Linked DNA regions of Homo sapiens: region 2 is linked to region 1. The links are contacts of gene promoters, found by promoter capture Hi-C in blood cells and fetal thymus (Javierre and others, 2016). All regions are on one chromosome and are shown on one strand. Each heading gives the region's core, a stretch centred on a gene start or on the middle of the fragment in contact. The rest is flanking DNA. Distances are from core to core; before and after follow the strand shown. Region 1 holds the start of SMCO4 (single-pass membrane protein with coiled-coil domains 4). Region 2 has its middle 2.0 kb from the start of FUT4.

Region 1 (3,452 bases), core at 67-2,566:
CATACTGGTGTCTTGAATACAAAGTTTATTTGTAAAGGGGAAAAAAAAAAAGCCAACATGAGTCATCTGCATTGTCAACGGGCTCCACACAGGTTGTTCTAATAAAGCATCCAGCACCTCCAGAACCACTTGTTTCTGAAAGCACCAACCTACGCAGACACTAGCAGGCCATGTCTTCCACCCTTGCCACCCTCGAGGCTGTGAGCAGATGCGCTGTTGGGCTCTGGGGATCTAGAGGTGTCACTTAAAGAGCAAGGGAGCCTGGAGCTTGGCAGTACTGACTGGATGAGTGGATGGGTGGGTGTATGAGGACATGGGAGTGTTTTCTGACAGCTCCCGGAGATAGTTATGATATCATGCAGCCTAATCCCACTCATCTTGGAACACCCCAAACATCTCATCCGCTCAGCTGTCCCTCCTCAACTTCCTCAGGGCAAAAGCACTGCAGTCTGAGGTGAATCTGGCCGCTGGGGAGGGGCGGTAGTCGGCCCCAGCAGCAGAGGAAGCAACGCTCAGCTCCCTCCTCCACCCACCCCGTACAGGAACTCCCCACTGGGTCTTCAGATGCCAGAGGCGTACCCAGCTCGGAGCCTGCCCCGGGTCTCAGGGTCGGTCCCGAAAGAACGGGGGAGGAGGAAGGCTCTATCCCGCCCCCGCCTCACCTCTACTCCCCGACCCCCAGGCGCCGACCCTTCTCACCCGCAAGGTCCGCCGCCGGACTCTTGTCCACTCCCAGAGACCCTGAGCGCACCCCTTTCTCGGCGTCCTCAAAGGACCCGCGTTTCCCACCTTCCCATACGGGGCCCTCCCGGCCGCCCCGGCCCAAGCCCTTTGCACTGCGTCCCCCGGCCCCTGAGTCCGCCCCGCACCCGCACTTCCCGCCCGGCCCCGCGGGCTCGCGGTCCGCCCCAACTTTTCCCAGCCCCCGCCCCGCAGCAACCGGGATGCAGCGTCTCGAGCCGCGACGGGCAGGCGAGCTCGAGTCCCTCGGGCCCCCAACCCCGCCCGCACGAGTTGCGCTCGGGACCCGCCGGGCGCCCAGGCCTGGGTCAGCAGCACTGCGCGGAGGCGGAGCCGGCGTGGCGGGAACCGTACTGTCCCGGCGCCGCACCCCCGCCCGGTGCCCGGTGCCCCGTGCCCCGCGCCCGCCCGCCGGCTCGCCCGCCCCGCCGCCGCCGCCGCCGCGCCGCTCCCAGCCCACCTGCCCGCGGGCGCCGCCGCCGCCGCCGCCACCACTGCCGGGAATACGTGGCAGTGGCCGCCGCCGCTTGCGCTCCCCGCCTCGCCTCTCCTCTCGGCGCCCGCGCGGGCGACTCTGGCGCGCCAGACCGCAGCGCCAGGCGCCCTCTGCCGCCGGGAAGCCGAATCCTCCCGTCCTAACCCTAACTCGCTGGCTGCCCCCGCCCGGGCCTCGGCTCCCGCCCCCTCTTCCCCGTTCCCGGCTCAGACTGTCGCTTCCGAGCGACCTGGGTTCTCGCCCGGCCTGCTGCTGCCGCTGCCTCCAGGAAGTTCGCCCTGACCACCTCTGCAGGCTCAGCGCGCTTCCTCCGGCTCCCGCGCAGCGGGTGCTTAAGTCACCCCCTTGTTGATATATTTCCTGCTTCTTTGAACGCCTCGCCCGTGAGATAGCAGAATCGGAAAGGGGATAGTTGGAGGCAAACGCCATGTCTGTTGTGTTCACCATTCTCTCCTCCAGGGCAAGGTTAGCGCCCTGTCTGGAATACTGAAGTGCGCAATAAATACTTGTGAAGAGAGCAAACGAGTAGATGAATGAGTTGAGACTTTTACCGCTGTCTACCCAAGTAGGCTTTGAAACCTCAAGCGGACAGAGATCCTGACCTGGATTTGTTTTTTGTAACTTACACGTGCATATGTGTGCGCAGCTCAGCATAAATAAATGAGATTCACAATTCCCCACCTCGGACCAGCGCCAAATCCGCAAGAGGCCCACGGCTAAATGTTATTCAGGGCTTTTGGTCAAACACGTTTAGGTTTGAGATCTACCTCTTAAAAGCTGGGCAATCGCGGGAAAGCTCATCTCCCTGGCCCACAGTGAACACGTCTATAAATTAAGAATAATAAAACCTACTTCACAGAGTTGTGAGAATTAATTGAGATGGTGCACTATAAAGTTCTTTACGCAGCCCCGATGTGTGCGGTGGTATGTAAATGGTAGTTATTGTTGTATTACTACTGATGCAGTAGGTGATTTTAAAAACTATCTTCGAAATGTAAAATATTGACTACCTTTTCACCTTAAAACCTTTATATGTGTGGTATTGTCACCTGCTCAGCAAGGCCAGCCCGGGGAGCAAGGCCACTCCTGTAACCTCTTCCCCTCCACCGGTAAAAATATAACAAGTCTTGGGGTTTTTTTGTTCTGTTTTGAAGAATTGTGGAACCCACTCTTCTGCAGGTTTTCCACCTGGATTTCTGTGGCCAATCTCTTAATTAACAAGTTTTTATTTTAGGGATGTCAAAGACAGGGAGCCCTTTGAAAGCACCTGCAGTCTACTGGCTCTTCCTGTTTTCTTCCTGACCCTCTCTCAAACAACTTAAGGCTTTTTTTTTCATTTTTACAGGAAGTGTCCTTCCTGCTGCGTACAAAAGGCAGCAATGCAGTAGAGTGGGATCAGAGGGGATTGGGCTGCATACACCTTGGGCTTTCTGCACCTCAGTCCCCTCAACGGTAAACTGTGGAGAATAAGACCTTGTCACATTGGGAGATCATTCATGATCCGGTCTGTGAAGGAAATAAGGAAATACCTGAAACACAAAGATATTTAATAAAAGGCAACTATTGATCAGTTTATTTAGCATGTATTTAAGGAGCATCTTTTTAGTGTTCTATGCGCTGAAAGAATGAGGGGAACACGCGTGTGTGAGGTAAGTTTCCTACCTTCAAAGGAGTTTGAGCTGTAGCTCCACACTAGGGCAGAGGGATTGGGAGCATATGGGATGCAGCTAAATATGAAATTAGCAAGCCTCAAGGTTTAAATTGGGGCAGTGGTACTGCCGTGTGAATTGCTTTAATTCATTATCATTGTAAATGCCATTTTCCTCTAAATATTATGTACACAACTTCCCAAGGCCACTGCTAAAAATTAATGAATAATTTTATGAGGCAAGCAGAGCCACTGATGTAGGACTCAGTCCCTTAATAAGGTGACTCCACATGCTCCCTTATAGTAGTAATAACATAGATATTGTGTCTGTGAAAGTGCCATCCTTGGCTGGGCGTGGTGGCTTACCCCTGTAATCCCTGCACTTTGGGAGGCCGAGGTGGGTGGATCACCTGAGGTCAGGAGTTCGGGATCAACCTGGCCAACACGATGAACCCCGTCTCTACTGAAAATACAAAAACTAGCTGGGCGTGGTGGCAGGCACCTATAATCCCAGCTACTTGGGAGGCCTGAGGCAGGAGAATCACCTGAACCCAGAAGGCGGAGGTT
Region 2 (3,686 bases), core at 310-2,809, 1.0 Mb after region 1:
AGTGTCATAAATTAAGTCTTGAATTATGGAGCTCTCTTCTACACTACTTTTGCAACCCTCAGGGTCCAAAGACCCTTCTCCATGCCCATCTCATCTTCATGCTGGCAACTGAAAGCTAGTTCTTTCTGTGCAATATTTTGTGGAAACTGAGAGGCCTTTAAATGCACAAAGAATCATTTGTTACCAAATGTAAAAGAATCATGGACTATTCTTCCATGTTCGAAATCTAAGATGATTCAGAGTTCATTTAGTCCAGCCTCTTCATTGTAAGAATAGTAATATCTCCTTCCACATGGGTAGCAGACATGTTTTTGCCCACCTAGCATCCTTTCCCTCTTTTTCAGGTAACACCACCTCATTTTTTCTTTTGGGTAACTTCTCTCCCCGCACTGTTATTCAAGAATAACAGATTATTCCACATCTGTTATTCAGATGGGACTGATTCTAGCTCCAGAGGAGGGTCTAAAGAGAGTACCCATTCCCTGACCACAGTGATTGCTTCAAGAATGAGCACTCATCCCAGGTTTGGCCAATGACAGCAGTCTAATTTGATATCATTTCTGATGCCTGTTGCCAGGACTATGCTTAATACATGTACAATATTTTCCACTGAAAGCTTAAGGGACATTTCAAGGTCATAGCAAGTCATTCACATAGCCAAGATCTCCGGATGTCTTCTCATTTTGTAGTGGGGAAAGAGATACCAACAGATAATTTCGGTGATACATTAAGGGCATACATTCATTCAACAAATATTCACTACTAGAAACCTGGTTCCGTGGTGGGTGTTCAGGATGGAATTATGAATGAAACAGTCATGATCTCTGGATGTCCCATGATGTTCTGAAAGGTGCAGCATGTGTGAGAGTGCACAGGAGGGCCATGTAAACTACCCTGGATATATGTTTGTGGGTATCCAGAAAGGCTTCCCAGAGAAAGAAACCAGCCTCCTAAATCTCTCTGAATCTATCCTCCTTTAATTTTCTTCCTCATCCTCACAGCTACTGTCTCAGTTCAGGCCCTCTTTATTTCACATCTGAATTACAGCAATAACTTTCCAACTGCACACCACCACACCCCTACTCTTACCCTATTTTTACCCAACTCACTCTTTACTAATGACAGAATGATTTTTTCTTAGAAACTTTTTTCTAAAGTATAATGTCCACCCATAAAAGTACATATGTAAGCATACAGTTTGATGAACTTCCATAACCAAACACACCCATTAACCAGAGCCTACATTAACAGTCAGCATTCCGCAGCCCCCCCGTGTCCCCATCCATATACTCACCCTCCTTATACGTAATAAAAATAAGAATTCATTTTAAAAATGAATATCGCTTCCTTCCTTTGTTAAAGCCTTCCAAGGACTTTCTCGACAGCCTGCAGGATAAACACCATCTCCTTCGCCAAACTATACCCTAGTAATTCCTCGCCTACTGCCCCAGTCTTCCCTCCCTGGCCTCTGCAGTGCTGCTCCCTCTGTGGCAACTAACACCTCAGCCCTCTTCCTCTGCATTGTAATGATTCCTAATTATTCCAGGAGCCACCTCCTCAAAGCCTTCCATGATCCCTTCCCTCCCCACTATCTGTTTCTCTCGTAGATTTTTGAAGGTAGAAACCGTGTTTTGCATTTGTTTCCCAATTTGTTAAATGAACAAGTGAGTAAATTTATTAATTTCCCATAACTCCTTTCCTCCCTTTCCTTCTCCTCTACCCTACCAATGGCTCTTTTAAAATAAGAACAATCCAGTCCCCTGTGAATGTTTGTGCATGTATGAGATGCACAATGATCACGTATGACCTTCAACCAGCAATTTGCGAAGTCACGACTGGTTTCCATTCATCCAGACACACCTTACTACCTAGTATCCCCTCCTCCCACATCAAATAAGGGTATAGTAGGGGCAGTTTGTGGTCTCAACCCTACCGAGGTAAGAGGGCACAAAGAAAATTGATATGCATGAGACCTCGGGCATTCTTCAGGTAAAAAGATGGCTTAATTGGAACATTCGGAGGCTTAAGAGAAAATCGGGAGTGGTGGAAGGAAGCAATCAAGCAGGGTAATATTTCCCAAATGCCTACCGGCCACGTGCCAGACACAATGTTAGGCTCTATCTGTGATGTCTTATTTAACTGAAGAGGGAGAAGAATGTGAATAAATGGCTGGATTCTTGAATTGCATAAAAAGAGAAGCCAATACACTTTTTCCTTTATTTCGTTTAAACAAGTAATTTGTGCATTTATAGCTTTTTCTTTTAATTAAAAGTAAGAGTGGAAAAAAGTCACTGAAATGTCTAATTTCAAATAAAATATTTGATTTCTAATTTCTGTTTTTCAAACAAACAAAAAACCCCAGAAGCATTATGAAAGGTTTTACTGTGCAGGAGGAAATGTTACTAGGTTGATGGGCCTAGCCAGAACACCTAACATCCTCCATCTAGTCTCCAAACTGAGGCTGTGGCCCTGCAGAGAGCGCCACCCGGAAGCCACTTTTATAGAAGCTTTTACACACAATGCTTGATTTTTTTTTTTTTTTTTCCGAGACGGAGTCTCGCTTTGTCGCCCAGGCTGGAGTGCAGTGGCGCGATCTGGGCTCACTGCAAGCTCCGCCTCCTGGGTTGACGCCATTCTCCTGCCTCAGCTTCCCGAGTAGCTGGGACTACAGGCGCCCGCCACCAAGCCTGGCTAATTTTTTTTTATTTTTAGTGGAGACAGAGTTTCACCGTGTTAGCCAGGATGGTCTCGATCTCCTGACCTCGGGATCCGCCCGCCTCGGCCTCCCAAAGTGCTGGGAGTATAGGCGTGAGCCACCGCGCCTGGCCTATACTTGATTTTTAATGAAAACATTCTTAAATTCATATGGCTAACGCAAATTTATTTTCTGTAGGCATAACATCAAAAACACCTGGCAGGATTGCCCCATTCCCAGCACTGTCTATTTCTCCCCTAGTATCAGTGGGACTCCACTGATGCACAGCTGTGATCTACTAAAACTTCTCTCAAAACTTTCTCCTCTCCTTAGGTCAGCAGCCCCGCCCCTGATCTATTTGGAAATCCCCTGAATAAAAGTTGAATATCATAAACCAAAGCGAACACCCAGAAATTCAAATTCAACCCGTAGGTAAAAAATTTCTCAAGTGACTGTAGACGTAGATGTCTCCAGTGTCGCCTAATAAGGTAGAAGAGGCCAGTGCGATACTGTCTTTACACCCTTAACTTGGGTGCTAGAATATTTATCTTCGTCATCATTTTATCATCCAAACTATTTTGCATAACTTTCATGGGTGCAGAAAATGTTTTTTAAGTGCTTGGTAAAATTAATAGTGATATTCATTCATTCATCTCACTGAACAGGCAATAAATTCCTTGACGACAAGGGCCTTGGGGGGGTCACATCTTCATCTTTGGTTTATGAGTCCTGTGCGTCTTGGTACAAGCAATACTACTATGAGCCGGCAAGTCAGACTTATTTGGTAGGGGACCAAAGGAAAGAACATGTTTTGATTGCTAAGAAAACATTTTGTTCTCTATCCTTTACTGGGCTGGCAGGCAAAGGAAATGTTCTTATGAGCACTCACATTGAAAACTTAAGTTCTTCACCAAATGCAGAGACTCTGAAGGCCACGCCGCTGCGGGCTGCCTCCACAATTCGACCGTCTCGGCGGGCCACGAGATCCTGG

What was found. The method cuts DNA at HindIII sites, captures the fragments that hold promoters and counts their contacts. A CHiCAGO score of 5 or more calls a contact.
Region 2: a fragment that was not itself captured here is called in contact with the fragment with the promoter of SMCO4 in region 1 in 2 of 17 cell types (monocytes and M0 macrophages); the score reaches 5.9 in monocytes.

The regions. Positions count from the first base shown.
Region 1 is chr11:93,542,075-93,545,526 of GRCh38, forward strand. SMCO4 (single-pass membrane protein with coiled-coil domains 4) reads right to left here and starts at 1,317. Exons shown (of 3, transcript NM_020179.3): 1 at 1,202-1,317. RefSeq lists silencers at 808-1,047, 1,178-1,227, 1,388-1,517. The HindIII fragment of the contact is 4,665 bases long and covers 1-3,452 here.
Region 2 is chr11:94,540,099-94,543,784 of GRCh38, forward strand. No RefSeq gene overlaps it. Among named protein-coding and RNA genes, the nearest start is that of FUT4, 2.0 kb to the right of the region's middle. The HindIII fragment of the contact is 1,891 bases long and covers 615-2,505 here.